3 separate regions of the Homo sapiens genome follow, and all the other regions are linked to region 1. The links are contacts of gene promoters, found by promoter capture Hi-C in blood cells and fetal thymus (Javierre and others, 2016). All regions are on one chromosome and are shown on one strand. The core of a region is centred on a gene start or on the middle of the fragment in contact, and the rest is flanking DNA. Distances in the headings are between cores, read along the strand shown. Region 1 holds the start of PLCG2 (phospholipase C gamma 2). Region 2 overlaps GAN (gigaxonin). Region 3 overlaps GAN (gigaxonin).

Region 1 (4,723 bases), core at 1,493-3,992:
GGGTGTGGTGGCACATGCCTGTAATCCCAGCTACTCGTGAGGCTGAGGCAGGAGAAAGGCGTGAACCCGGGAGGCGGAGCTTGCAGTGAGCCGAGATCGCGCCACTGCACTCCAGCCTGGGCGACAGAGCAAGACTCCGTCTCGGGGGCGGGCGGGGGGGGGGGGGGAAAGGACATGAAATGAGATGCGAGGACCCAAAACCAGAAATCAAGGAAGTTTTTGTCTCTTCAGTGCTCTGTGCATGGTAAGCCAGTACAGGATTTCATCCAAAAATCCCACAAGACAATTGTGTTAAAATGGAGCACAGGCAAATACTTGAGTGGTAAGGGCCCCTCCAACAGTTCAAGGGACATTACTGCTGCACCTTACACCCACCCTGCAGCATTAGAGGGAATACACTATTTTCAAAGGAATGGTGTCAGCCACTGCAAGTGAGAGTGTAAATTCCACCCCTGCTCCTTTAGGGCAACCTGTGAGCAGCTACTAAAAAGCAAAACACGCATATGCTTCGATCCTGCAATTGTACATGTAAAGAAAGACATGCACAAAGATGCAATATGTACGACAGAAAATCACGGAAGCAATAGTTGCAATAGAAATACAAAAAAAGAAAAAAAAACAGAAAACAACTGCTCATCAATGTGGGGGGCCTCCTGGATAAATAATGGTGCACATGCACTGAAGAACGCTCAGTAGCCATCAGAAAGAATGAGGATGATAGATAAGCAATTTGATCTGGAAAGATTTGTGAGGTCAATAAAAAAATAGCTTCAGACAATAGTTGCAACTGTATGAGTATAATACAATTCCCTTTTTATAAAGGTGATCTTCTGGTAAATCCAGGAGAGTGGTTACTATTTATCGGAGGCTGGGAGAGGGTAGAGGATACAACTTGACTTTATTTATATTAACTGATGATGTAACGGGCAAATTTTTCTCTTTGTGTTCTTGCTGTTTTCTAAATTAAGAAGTGTTTGTGTGTGTTTGTTTGTTTGTTTGTTTGTCTTGAGATGGAGTCTCTCTTGTCACCCAGGCTGGAGTGCAGTGGCATGATCTGGGTTCACTGCAACCTCCACCTCCTGGGTTCAAGTGATTCTCCTGCCTCAGCCTCCTGGGTAGCTGGGATTACAGGCGGCCACCACCACGCCCAGGTAATTTTTGTAGTTTTAGTAGAGATGGGGTTTCACCATGTTGGTGAGGCTGGTCTGGAACGCTTGACCTCAAGTGATCAGCCCAGCTCGGCCTCCCAAAGTGCTGGGATTACAGGTGTGAGCCACCGTGCCTGACCAAGAAATGTTTTCAAAAGTTTTCTCACCAGCAGCTTTTCATTGACTCTACCCAATGAGTGCAAAAGGGCTATTCATGGGGTCTGTGCTTTTCCACTTCCAGAGGAACTGCCCATACTCCAGTCGCTGGTGGGGGAAGGCAGCTGCATCATTAGGTGACTTAAACATCAGTGAGGCTCACAATGACGATTGTCCCTGAGCTGGTATACACGTGACTGCACACACACCTTTGCAAGAGAAACTGCTTGAGGCTGGCATAGACTTCAAAATTCTGTAAAACTTCCCCGCAGAACTGTAGTCAAGGACGAGGGCCCATGCCCCAGAGAATGCCCTTGAACCAGAGAGTCAGGAACTGCCCAAGGACTCTCCATGGATGCGCCCCGATTCTCAGCGAACCTCGTGGAACAGCAATAAGCCCCAATTCTCGACACAGCCCTGGAAAATTGGGTGGCTCCAGTATCCAGAGGGGGAAACAGACTCAAAAAGGTTCTTCAACTTGCCCAGGGTCCCACTGATGGAACTGAAATTCAAATTAAGTTCCGACGGGCAAGGCCACCTGTTTCCCTCGCGCCATGTCACCCCTTTACCACCCCGCCCCCCATAGTTTCTCACCCTAGTTCAAGATTAGGGTACCAAGAGAGCCCCGCCCCACCGTCCTGCTGGAATCCAGGAGCTCCCCGTCCAAACGGGGCACGTCTTTAACCTGAACTCTTGCGCTGTGCGGGTAATGCCCTCTTTGGGATTCCAAAACACAACAAAACACAACACGCACAGACACACGCATAATTACGCAGACAGCTGCGGAGCGGGCATCGCGAGTGTCCTGCAAGCTCTCCAAAAGTCTCCGGGAAGGACTGCGCCTCCCGCGGTATCGCTCCCACCCGCCACCCGCAACCACCGAAGTGAGACAGGGAAGTGTGGCTCCGAGCGTCCGCGAGCTCTGGGCACAAGGGCCGTCAAGAGAGACGGCGCCACCCCACGCAGAGCCGCTCGAAAAGAGGAGTTTTGAACGCCAGCCCCCACACGACCCCTGACCTTCCTCCCGGTCCCCATTCAAAGCTGGGGCCGCCCCACCGCACGGACCGGAGAGGTGGCGCCGGCCCGGGGTGAGGAAGTGGCCAGCGGCTGGGCCAGGATCCCTGCCGTCACCAAACGGACCCCGGGCACGGCGGGCCGGGGTCCCCGAGGGTGCGCCCCGTCCCTGCCCGCTCCGGCTGAGCCAGGACGCAGACCCCCTCGGACGCAGCGCCCTGGGAGCCGGTCCCCGCGGGGCGCAGGTCCCTGGGCGCCCTGCCTGCCTCGCTCCCGGCCGGGCAGCTCACCTGGCCGTGCCGCCCGGGCACAGCTGCCCGCCTGCCCCGGGTTTGGGCTCCGGGGTCCCGCGCGCGCAGCCCGCGTCCCGACTCGGGTCACTCAGCGCCGCTCACGCCCTCCGCCGCCGGCGCTCGCTACTTCTGCTTCGGCCGCGGCGCCGCGCCACGTGATCCTCGGGGGCCGCCCCCCGCACCGCCCAGCCTCGCCCCGCCTCGCCCCGCCCCAGGCGCGCCCAGCCGGGTCCGCCTCTCGGAGCGCACCCCGAGTGCAGCGTCCCCGCGCCCTCCCCGCCATGGAGCGGCCCAGGCCTGGAGCCCCGCCTCTGCGTGCCAAAGAAGAAACTGAGGCAACCCGAGGGGAGGCTACCTGCCCGAGGCCACTTGGCCAGGTGCAAAGGGAATTCCCCAATATCATGGCATTCCTGGAGAGCCGGCCGCAGTCCAGGTGTTTGCCGTATACTTAACACACTCCCGGCCGGGCGCCCGGGCTCACGCCTGTCATCCCAGCTCTTTGGGAAGCCTAGACGGGAGGATCGTCTGAGCTCGAGAGTTCGAGACAGCAATGAGCTAGGATGGGTGTGGCCGAGAGACACTCCGTCTCAAAAATAAATAAATAAAAATTAAAAATAAATATACTCTTCACAATTACCCGCCAGGAATTGCCAATTCATGGCCCTAATTTGAAGCCCTCGTTGAGGCTGCGCTGGAGTCAGACCAACCCTTACTGCTACCTTAGGCAGACCACTTAAAAACCGACAGCCTCAGTTTCCCCATCTGTAAAACGTGATCAACATAGTGCCAGCCCCAAAGGGAGTCAGGAGCAAAGAACCCCAGACAATTGATGTCCCGTTTTCCTGATCTCATGGGAAGAAGCTAATATGTTCTTTAAGAAATTTATTTTTCCGTTCGTGTGTTGCATGAAGCTATCTGATTCAAACCCTTCCTATGCTCTTTGATGGAGGTATCTTTGTTGTGACTAGAGGCAGTTTCAGGGGCACCTAGACAGCTGTCAGGCACTTGAATTTCACTTCCAAGTTGCTTGAGTTATAGCTTCTGTTTTCTAAGAGGCAGGGTCTCACTCTGTCACCCAGGCTGGAGTGCAGTGGTGCCATCATAGCTCACCACATCCTCGAACTCCGGGACTCAAGCGATCCTCCTGCTTCTGCCTCCTGAAGAGCTGGGACTATAGAGGCACACCACACTTGGCTAATTTTCTCTTTTTTCGACATGAGGTCTCACTATGTGTCCCAGGCTGTTCTTGAACTCCTGACCTCAAGCAATCCTCCTGCCTCTACCTCCCAAAGCACTGGGATCACAGGCATGTGCCACTGGTCTGTTATAGCGTTTTTTTTGTGTGTGTGTGTTTTTGGTTTTTTTTGTTTTTTTTTTTGTTTTTTTTTTGTTTTTTTTTTTTTTTGAGACAAAGTCTTGCTCTCTTGCCCAGGCTGGAGTGCAGTGGCACGATCTCGGCTCACTGCAACCTCCACCTCCCAGGTTTAAGCGATTCTCCTGCCTCAGCCTCCTGAGTAGCTGGGATTATAGGTGTATGCCATCATGCTTGGCTAATTTTTTGTATTTTTACTAGAGACGCGGTTTCACTATGTTGGCCAGATTGGTCTCAAACTCCTGACCTCAAGTGATCCACCCACCTTGGCCTCCCAAAGTGCTGGGATTACAGGCATGAGCCACTGCACCCGGCCTGTTATAGCGTTTTTTAATTGAGGAATATCACTCTCACTGTCAATGTTGTATCCCAAGCCATAGGACTCGTTTGTGACTTCACAAGATCTGTGGATTCATTTCTTTCAGCACTCCCAACTGGCGTGTATAGCTGTGCTCATCACCACAGATCACTTAACACATCAATTTTTTAAAGAGATCTTGGAAGGACTCATTATGACATCAACCACTTGAAGTCATTGGGCCAATTCCCCAGGAAAAATGACTACATCTAGGGGCAATTCCTTTGCCTCACTTTTTTTTTTTTTTTTTTTTTAGAACTTCAGCTTGTATTTATTTCAACCAATCTTTTTCACACTTTTGTTTTAGTATGTGTTATATAAAGTACATAATATATTAGTTCAGTCATATATATGTATAATTTATTATTACAAAGTCTACATG
Region 2 (4,723 bases), core at 829-3,328, 410 kb after region 1:
GAAGAGCCAGAAAAATTAGAACCCATTTCTCAAGGGAGCAAACAATCAATAGACGCCAACTCTTGAGATGACTCAGATACTGGAATTAACAGGCAAGGACTTGAACACAACTACCACAGTGATGCTCAGTAAGGGAAAGGAAAATATGCTTGTGATGGAAAGATAGGAAATTTCAGCACAGAAAATTTAAAAACCTAAAAACAAAGTACACAAACATTTTAGAATTACTAACATAAATAAATAACTAACATAAATTTGAAATAAAAAATTCACTGGATGGAAATAACAAAAGAAAGCAGCAGCAAACAAGACAGAGCAACAGAAACCATCCAATCTGAAGAAGGAAAAATGATACTGCAGACTGAATGGTCATGAAAATAAAACATATCAGCATGTCCAGCTAGAGTGGTGCTCTGTGGAAAGTTGAAGGCTTTCATGGTGTGCCTTAGAAAAGCAAAAGATCTACCATAAGTAATCTAGAATTCTACCTGAAGAAGCTAGAAAAGAGTAAAAGAAACCCAAAGTAAGTAAAAGGATGGAAGTAATATAGATGAGTGTAGGAATCAATGAAACAGAAAATACTAGGGAGAAATGAACCCAGTGTAGAAGCTGGTCTTTTGTTCACAGAGGGTGCAGACTGGCAAGGCCAGGGGCCAAAGGGCCACTATGCCGCTGTCGGCTGCCTTCCTCTCACTCCTCCTGTGCTTGCTCCTACCAGCATGCAGGAGACCAGGGGTGCACACTCTCCAGCGGCCTCAGCACACACACTTCCAATGGGATGAATCTCAGCCCTGTGGGATGGGGAAAATACTTCCTGATTTGTTCCTTCCTTGGGTGTTTTCCCTCTGCCCTAAAGGTAGCAGCTGTGCTTCCTACATTAGCTATTTCTACAGTTTTCAGAGTCCTCTTTTCCCACTTTTAGCAGCTGTCTCTTACTAGTGGTAATTACATATATTACATTTTCCCTGTTCAAAAGACTGGTGTGGTTTTTGCCACTTGACTGGACCATGACTGAAACAGATGTGGTTGGGGGTGGGGTTCATCTTTTATCCTCTAGTTCACACGTCTTACAAAGGCATCTGAAAGTACCTGTTTCTTCCTAACCATAAGATACAAACAGCACAATGTGGTCAGTGGGGTAGACCAGTGAGATGTTTTGTGGAACATCATGATGATTAAAATCTCTGTGGACTAATATACAGCCGACATTAGCCCATTATATATTAGTTGATACAGCCCTGAGGCAAGGCTGTGGAGGCATACTGTTGCCCCTGACAAGTAAAAGCAAACTGCTTCTGGTGACCCTTGCAAATTGGTATGAAGAAAATACATTAGCTATGTCAACGGCTGCCATACTAAGGTTGGGAACTGTGCCTCATAAAGATACAACATTTGTGTGAGGATATTACGTCTGGGAAAGAATTTGGGATCAGTATGATCACCTGATTAAGTTTATGAAAACTTTCTCTGTGTGCATTAAAAAAGCAAAACATCGGCTGGGCGCGGTGGCTCATGCCTGTAATCCCAGCACTTTGGGAGGCCGAGGCGGGCAGATCAAGAGGTCAGGAGATCGAGACCACGGTGAAACCCTGCCTCTACTAAAAATTAGCTGGGCGCGGTGGCGGGCGCCTGTAGTCCCAGCTACTCAGGAGGCTGAGGCAGGAGAATGGTGTGAACCCGGCAGGTGGAGCTTGCAGTGAGCCGAGATCACGCCACTGCACTCCAGCCTGGGCAACAGAGTGAGACTCCGTCTCAAAAAAAAGCAAAAGATCTACCATGAGTAATGTAGAATTCTACCCAAAGAAGCTAGAAAAGAGTAAAAGAAACCCAAAGTAAAAGGAAAACCTAAAAACAAGCTACACAAACATTTTAAAATTGATAACATGTTTGAAATAAAAATTTTCCAAGATTTTCCGAGATCCACTTTACTTTTCTACTTTTTCTAGGTGAATTAAGTGGGGATGTGATAGGCATCACCTCTCCTGCATTTTCTACTCTTTCATGGTGGCATGGTTTTTGCAGATTCACCCAGGATGCAGTATTGTTTCTGGTTTTCTATTTTGGTAGGGAAGCAGAGCTCCGGGGACTTCCACTTAGCCCTTGTTGTCATGGTGGCTCCCAATCCATGTGTCAGAGAACCAGCATGGTGATTTTGCCAGTTGTCAAGTATGTCTATTCTAGTTATATATTCAGGAATCAAAAGAGGAAACTGACAGATCTCAACTTCAAAGAACAGTTAATTTAACTTATATACTGTAAAAAATTAAAGTAGAGGGGCATCTAGGCTAAGCGAATGCACGGAGGCAGTAAAACACAAGAGGATTTAAAAAGTGAGCTGGAGTATACGATATGTGAAAGAAAGATACTAAAAAAGGGTGAAACTTTTTCTTAACCTCAAATCATGGAGAACCCTGAGTAGGTGGCTAAGAACTATTACCTTTGTTTAGTAAGCAGTGGGAAACAGTCAAGAATTCTGAGAAGGGCAATCAAAAACTCTGAGCAAAAAGGTATGTGCCACTATGCCTGGCTGATTTTTGTCAGGTTCATCTTTCAAAACCACAAATAAGTAACTGCACTGGCAAGGCTGGCCAGAGGCTAATGACACTACACAGATGCAGGAATAACTGTGAGGGTAGCAGCGGGGCAGGGAAGGTGGGAAATGTGAAAAATGCTACCAAGATTTAAAAAAGGACCAGACCTGGCAACTGATGAGTTGCAAAGTACAAGACAGAATTCAAGATGATTCCCTTTTCTGAGACAGGGTCTTGCTCTGGCACTCAGGATGGAGTGTAGTGGCACGATCATGGTCTACTGCAGCTTCCACCACTTCCCAGGCTCAAGTGATCCTTCTGCCTCAGCCTTCCAAGTAGCTGGGACCACAGGCGTGGACTACCATGTTCAGCTCATTTTTGAATTTTTTCAAAATTCATAGAGACAAGGTCTCACTATGTTACTCAGGGTTGTCTTGAACTCCTGGGCTCAAGGGATCCTACCACCTGGGTCTCCCAGAGTTCTGGGATTATAGGTGTCAGCCACTGTGCCAGCCAAGATGACCCTTTTTTGAACATGGATGACTGGGAGGATAGTAGTGTTACTAACAGAATATGGACACAAGGAACAGAAATAGAGAAACCGTCATTCTGGGTATATGAAGCTGTTGCTCTGGCTTGGTAATACTTTATGGCAATTTCTTTGCTTTCCTTTCAAGCAGTTTTGCTTTTATTCAGAAAAACAGAAAAGAATAAGATATGGCTTTTTTCCCAGAAAGTTTTAACCTAAAAATAGGGAACAAAGACAGGAAAGACAAGAGATTACTTAAAAACAATCGACATGGTCTCCAATCAAATATGGACTGCTCATCCGGCAACTACAGTTTCCACACTATGCCAATATAACACATTTGCGTCTGATCTTTTAAGAAATAAACTACTCCTACATGTTATTTTGTTCTATCGATAGTTATAGGAAAGCCTATATTTTTAAGTCAATCTAGCGTGGTAGTTGAAAAGGTGGACTCTGGGGCCAGAACGCCTGAGTTCAGATCCCACCTCAGCTTCTTGCTCCTTGTGTGTCTGTGGGCACACCGCTCACCCTTTCCTCATATGGAAAATAGGAATAGTAACAGTACCTACATGCGCTTCAGAGTGCTGTTTTGAAGATTAAATACATGGCATTTGGTGTTATATGTGTGTTTAATGTTATCTAAACATGTTAGAATCTTATATTGGTAAGATAAATTAACAGCTTTCTTCATTCTATTTACAAACATCAGAGAGCTTAGAAATAAGGAACTGAATATACATTAATTTTATTTGGAAGTGCTCTTATTTATTTAGAGACAGGGTCTCGCTTTGTTGCCCAGGCTGGAGTGCAGTGACACAATCTCGGCTCACTGCACACTCCACCTCCTGGGTTCAACCAATTCTCATGCCTCAGCCTTCTGAGCAGCCAGGACTACAGACACGTGCCACTATGCCTGGCTAATTTTTTTTTTTGTACTTTTAGTAGAGACAGGGTTTCACCATGTTGGCCGGGCTGGTTTTGAACTCCTGGCCTCAAGTGATCTGCCCGCGTCGGCCTCCCAAAGTGTTGGGATTATAGCCTGGAGCCAGTGCACCTGGCGAGAAGTGCTTTTAAACAGCAAAGAAGGAACCACAGTCTTACGTTTAATTATTATGAACTTAAAGCAAGTGATAGTTATATTAAAAGCTTATCCAGTACAAATATGTAACAACCTGATAGGCCAGGTGCGGTGGCTCATGCCTGTAATCCCAGCACTTTGAGAGGCTGAGGCGGGCGGATCATTAAGTCAGGAGTTCGAGACCAACCTGGAAAACATAGTGAAACCCTGCCTCTACTAAAAATACAAAAATTAGCCAGGCATGGTGGCATGCGCCTGTAGTCCCAGCTACTTGGGAGGCCGAGGTGGAAGAATCGCTTGAACCCGGGAGGCAGATGGTGCAGTAAGCCGAGATCACGCCACTGCACTCTAGCCCGGGCGACAGAGCGAGACTGTCTCCAAAAAAGAAAGAAAGAAAAAAAAAGACTTCATCCCTTGGGCAATCAGCCCTCCCAGTCATGTATCAAGGAAGGAAAAATGTAGAGAAGTCTGAAAATCTGCCCCTACCACAGCAAGTATTCTCTAAACTGCTCTCTAATAAATTTTCCTAAGATAGTCTATTCCTGTAATTGAAAAAAAAGGCTATGCAAATACCCTAAATTT
Region 3 (4,723 bases), core at 1,632-4,131, 390 kb after region 1:
TACTTGGGAGGCTGAAGCAGGAGAATCACTTGAACTCAGGATGTGAAGGTTGCAGTGAGCCGAGATTGCACCACTGCACTCCAGCCTGGGCAAGACAGCCAGACCCTGTCTCAAAATTAAATTAAAATTTAAAGGGCTACAGGCCACTGGACCATATGACCTCGTTATGAAAGGTAGAAAAAAATTTAAACCCACTTGCCACACCTATGTTATGCCATGCCGTGCCACCAAAGATGAATATACTGCCTCTTTTCATGTGATTTCAGGAGGGAGTCTGCAGACGGCCCGTGCACTTTCCTGTCCTTACCTAACCTGGACCTTATGGTAGAGTTGCTAAGCTCTTTACCCCTTGCCTTCAGTGGAGATCTGTATTTGAATTATCTTTTTCAAGTACTACCAATCTTTGTAGGTTTATTGTCTCTGGACAGCGCAGTAAGAGGGAACTAGAGAAATCTGCTTTCTGCAGATGGAATTCTGCCTCATATTACCAAGCCCTTAATATCAAGGTCCTCTAGTCCTCCGAAATCTATTTTCTCTCTGTCTTCTGAGGAAAGCCAATTTGAAACCATTTTTCAGGGAAGACAGCAAGGAGACTTATGCTGACGGCGATGGAGAGGCTCAGGCAGTCAGCCATGGAAAGACTCAGGCAGTCAGCCATGGAGAGACTCAGGCAGTCAGCGATGGAGAGACTCAGGCAGTCAGCGATGGAAGAGGCTCAGGCAGTGACTGGGGTGTGGCTGCTAAGGGACGGATCTAACATCACAAGCCACGGTCTAGGAGCTGACACCCACACCGTGTAAATGACAGAAACGACAACGTTTCATTCTTAAATCAAATCAAGCTGTATTGATAATGATGATTTAGCAGGAACCACTCTAAAAATCAGAAACAATTAGAATGCCTTCCCCATCAAATTATTTTATTAGGTTAATTAAACAGCTTAAAGATGATTCCTTTTGTGTGGTACCCTTCTAGAAAATATTTCAAGTTTTTAAGTGAACTTCCAATACATAAAACAAAATTACTTTAGCATACACAAATTTCAGATCAAAATACAACACTCTGTTTCTGTTTTCTTACAGTTATAAAATCCAGTCAATACAAACTACATAAAAAAGATAAAACACTTTCACTGATCCTTGGTACAAGAGAACAGCATGATGGCAAAATGTTCCCCAAGCACAGGTCCTGGGTTCGTGAGAAGGGACCAACCCCACAATATACTGAAGCATGTAAACAAAGTGCGTGCTACTTAATTTAGGTTAACAAATCCTTTTTGCATCAGTATTACTTGTAAACCATAAAGCAACTTTTAAAAAGAAAGGTTATTAATTAAAAATTACTTCTGACTGCTAAATTTCTTATCAGCAAGTGAACAGAAAATTATTCCACAAAACAAACTAGTACCTTTGGACCACAGGATGTGAGACGTGACATTTCAATGAAATCAACTTAGCACGACTTCTCTACTATCCTACTGAACTTGGGGAGTACAATTTTACAAGTTGCAGCCTTCTAGCACTTCCAATATTTTGAACTTTCTAAACCTGCCTATTTAGCTATGATTTTCATTGCAAATCCCTGTTTTTCAGTAGTAGGACTTTATTAAAGATAGGATAATATCACACACAATACAATCTTCACTGAATATGTGTCTAAGCAGACCTACTTGGAATTCTACTAGATAATAAAGTTGCAGGATTTAAAAGAAATACTATTCTGCAGGTCCCATGTCAGAAAACACAGATATGTTCAACAGATTGGTGTGGTATTTATATGGTATTCGTGGCATTTTCCTTATAGTATTCAAAGCATCAAAATGACAAATCAAGACTGTTAAAAACCAGTCTTGGACAAGGGTGACAGTCACATACTCGAGGGTCCAGCACAACACTGGCATGAGCCAACAGGAGCCACGCCGGCCACCTGCTGGGCCAGGGACCACTGCAAAGAGCAGCCCTGAATTTGGGAGGGTCAAATCGAATTTACAAATCTTGTTTTCAGGAATTTCCTTGATAGTTCTCTTTCATGGCAGAAGACCTATACCCGTGATGGAAAACAAAAGAATGTACACATTTCTAGTGTGTCATGAATGGGTCTCACTCACAGATAGGTACAGACATCACTGTCACTGCTAACACACAATGAAGTCTGCCTACGCCTACCTGAGGAGCATCCGCGATACCGTTTCTGATGAGGACAGGACTCTGCGGAGGTGGGCAGAGCAGGGGGTGCTTTTGTCAGCTCTGCTGGTCACTTCCAGGCTGCTGGTACACACCCCAACAGTGGCTGCAAAGATTGTTCAAAACTTCTGCTGAGGCCACAATGATTACGGGATGGTTGTCACAATTCACAAAAGGTATGATACAAAAAACAAAGGGTATCACCATTACGTCGCCGGCGAACTGAAGGGGTACAAGACCGAGGAACCAAACACAAGCTGAATTCAAAACGAAAAGAACCCCAGTGGCAGAAAAAGCCACGAATTATTTAATGAAGCAAGTTGTGCTAATAAACAGCCTGTGCTTTTCTTAACTGAAGGTCACTTGATACATTTCCCAACACACAATTTTTATTCAGATTATCTTTGTTTTCATGGAGAGCCTGAATTTTGAGGTACGATCTAGGAAAAAGATGTTATCACCCACACAAATGGAAGGCTCACTTCTTTACTTCTTAAGCTGATGATACCCTTTTGCCCGCCCCATGTACCAGATCCTACATGATTTTTTAAAATAAAACATAAGTCAATTTCAATGAGCATATGCTAGACTAACAATAAATTTATTTTTTGGAGTTTCTTTTGAAGCACAAATTCCTTTTAAAAAAAATATGAAAAGGTGGTCTCTCCTGGAAACAAGCAGTTCTAGTTTCCGATCCCACAACGATTTGGAACATAGTGTGTTTTTAAGTCAGAGCTGAAGAGGAAAGAAGGAAACAAGGGCTGCGCTCCGCTCTGGCGAATGCGAGCTGCAAAGGGACAGAGGAGGACCCACACGGAGGGTCCCCACCCGGCTCTGCGGACAGACATGGCAGAGGGCCTGTCACACAAGAGGCCACCGGGCCGAGCACGTCCGGGAGCCTGGGGCTGCACTGGGTGCTGAGGTAGTGAGCGGGGCCTGTGCCTGCCTGCCCTCCCGGCTTGGAGGGGGAGCCCTGAGGGCCTCTGGGGCTGGCCTGGAAGGTGTCATTCTAGCCTACAGGTGCCTAAGGCGCTGGGATGTGTCCTTGGCGGTGCCTCAGAAGGCACCTGGGTCCAAGTTCTGACCTGGAGCCTTGGGGACAGATCTGACTCTCACAGCCAGGGCCAGCTGGTTGTGGAAAGTGCTAGTATGCAGGTCTGCTCAGGGATCTGTGAGGCTCATGCTCTGGCCATTATGTGGTCTGAAGAACCAGAAGGGCTATTCTCCTCGCCCCCAACAACCCGCCCCAACTGCACCTTTCTTTTCCTTTTTATTTTGGATACATAATTCAAGCAGTAAAAAAACCAGGCTGGAAGAGGGTTGGGACAGAGGAGCAGAGGGCAGGGTGGGAAAGCTATCCCAAGAAGAGTGAGTAAAAACAACGACTCCGAACATGGCCAAAATACCCTTCCTCCACCTTGACGGCAATCCCTAAGCTGGCAGAGAAAGATGCGCCGACTGCGAAGTGCCTGTTTTCTCAGAGATTCCACCTAGCAGTGTCCATGGGGAGCCACAGTGGAACATGGAGAGAACAATCAAGGCTGGTTCAAACGAAAGGTTATTCACCAGTGAAAGAAACGGGGAGAAGACACAGCCGGCTAGCTCTGAAGACATGGTGTGCATCCCAGCCTATAAATCTCTAATGATCTTGATCCCGTGTTTCCCCTATTTCTGAGCAGACCTTTTTTTTTAATTTTTTATTTTTTTGTGAGACAGAGTCCCCCTCTGTCGCCCAGGCTGGAGTACAGTGGCACAATCCTGGCTCACTTCAACCTCTGCCTCCTGGGGTCAAGTGATTCTCCTCCCTCAACCTCCCGAGTAGCTGGGATTACAGGGGCCCACCAACACACTCGGCTAATTTTTGTATTTTTAGTAGAGACGGGGTTTCACCATGTTGGCCAGGCTAGTCTTGAACTCCTGACCTCAAGTGATCCACCTGCCTTTGCCTCCCAAAGTGCTGGGATTACAGGCGTGAGCCACTGCACCCGGCCTGAGCAGATCAAAAACAAGGCAAGAGGGGTCAGGACACACAGGCAGAGGCTCGTTCCCTCTCCTTCCAGAGCTGAGAATAAAACTGCAGTAGACTTTCACCAGGGAGGAGGACAAGACAAAACCATGACAACAATCAGGTCCCTTGGTGACGACGTGCCCCATCAGCAAGGCTACCCACCTACGGAGTGGGAAGGTTGCCGTGCCAACCTCCCCTAGGGCAGGAGAAACAACTGGCATATGTTCAAATGATCAATATCCCACCCCCCGCAACAAAACTTTTTTCTGAAATTTCATATAGCAACGTGCTTTCTTGAACCGAGACGTAAGACTTTACATTTAGCCATTACACTATGAAGAGTATTGCAGATCTAACACCCAACACATCTTGCCCAGCACTCTTCTTTGCCTTCTATATTTTTATTCAAGTTATGGATACAAATGTCAAACAGGATGCTGCTAGAGTAGCTCACCTTAAGTGATCTTGCCAAAGATCCGTTCTTGCCAACACTGTCTGAACCTGGCTATTCAGCCGACTTCTCGGTCCTTTG

The links. The method cuts DNA at HindIII sites, captures the fragments that hold promoters and counts their contacts. A CHiCAGO score of 5 or more calls a contact.
Region 2: a fragment that was not itself captured here is called in contact with the fragment with the promoter of PLCG2 in region 1 in 5 of 17 cell types (total B cells, naive B cells, neutrophils and 2 more); the score reaches 8.6 in total B cells.
Region 3: a fragment that was not itself captured here is called in contact with the fragment with the promoter of PLCG2 in region 1 in 1 of 17 cell types (neutrophils); the score reaches 6.2 in neutrophils.

Annotation. Positions count from the first base shown.
Region 1 is chr16:81,777,310-81,782,032 of GRCh38, reverse strand. PLCG2 (phospholipase C gamma 2) reads right to left here and starts at 2,742. Exons shown (of 33, transcript NM_002661.5): 1 at 2,609-2,742. LOC105369213 (a long non-coding RNA gene) reads right to left here. Exons shown (of 4, transcript NR_189584.1): 4 at 4,680-4,723. RefSeq lists silencers at 2,437-2,516, 2,527-2,626, 2,657-2,926, 2,955-3,249. The HindIII fragment of the contact is 8,410 bases long and covers 1-4,723 here.
Region 2 is chr16:81,366,641-81,371,363 of GRCh38, reverse strand. All of the region lies in intron 9 of GAN (gigaxonin), which reads right to left. Among named protein-coding and RNA genes, the nearest start is that of MIR4720, 16 kb to the left of the region's middle. The HindIII fragment of the contact is 4,266 bases long and covers 1-4,211 here.
Region 3 is chr16:81,386,985-81,391,707 of GRCh38, reverse strand. GAN (gigaxonin) reads right to left here. Exons shown (of 11, transcript NM_022041.4): 11 at 899-4,723. Among named protein-coding and RNA genes, the nearest start is that of MIR4720, 4.3 kb to the right of the region's middle. RefSeq lists a silencer at 4,640-4,723. The HindIII fragment of the contact is 7,296 bases long and covers 1-4,723 here.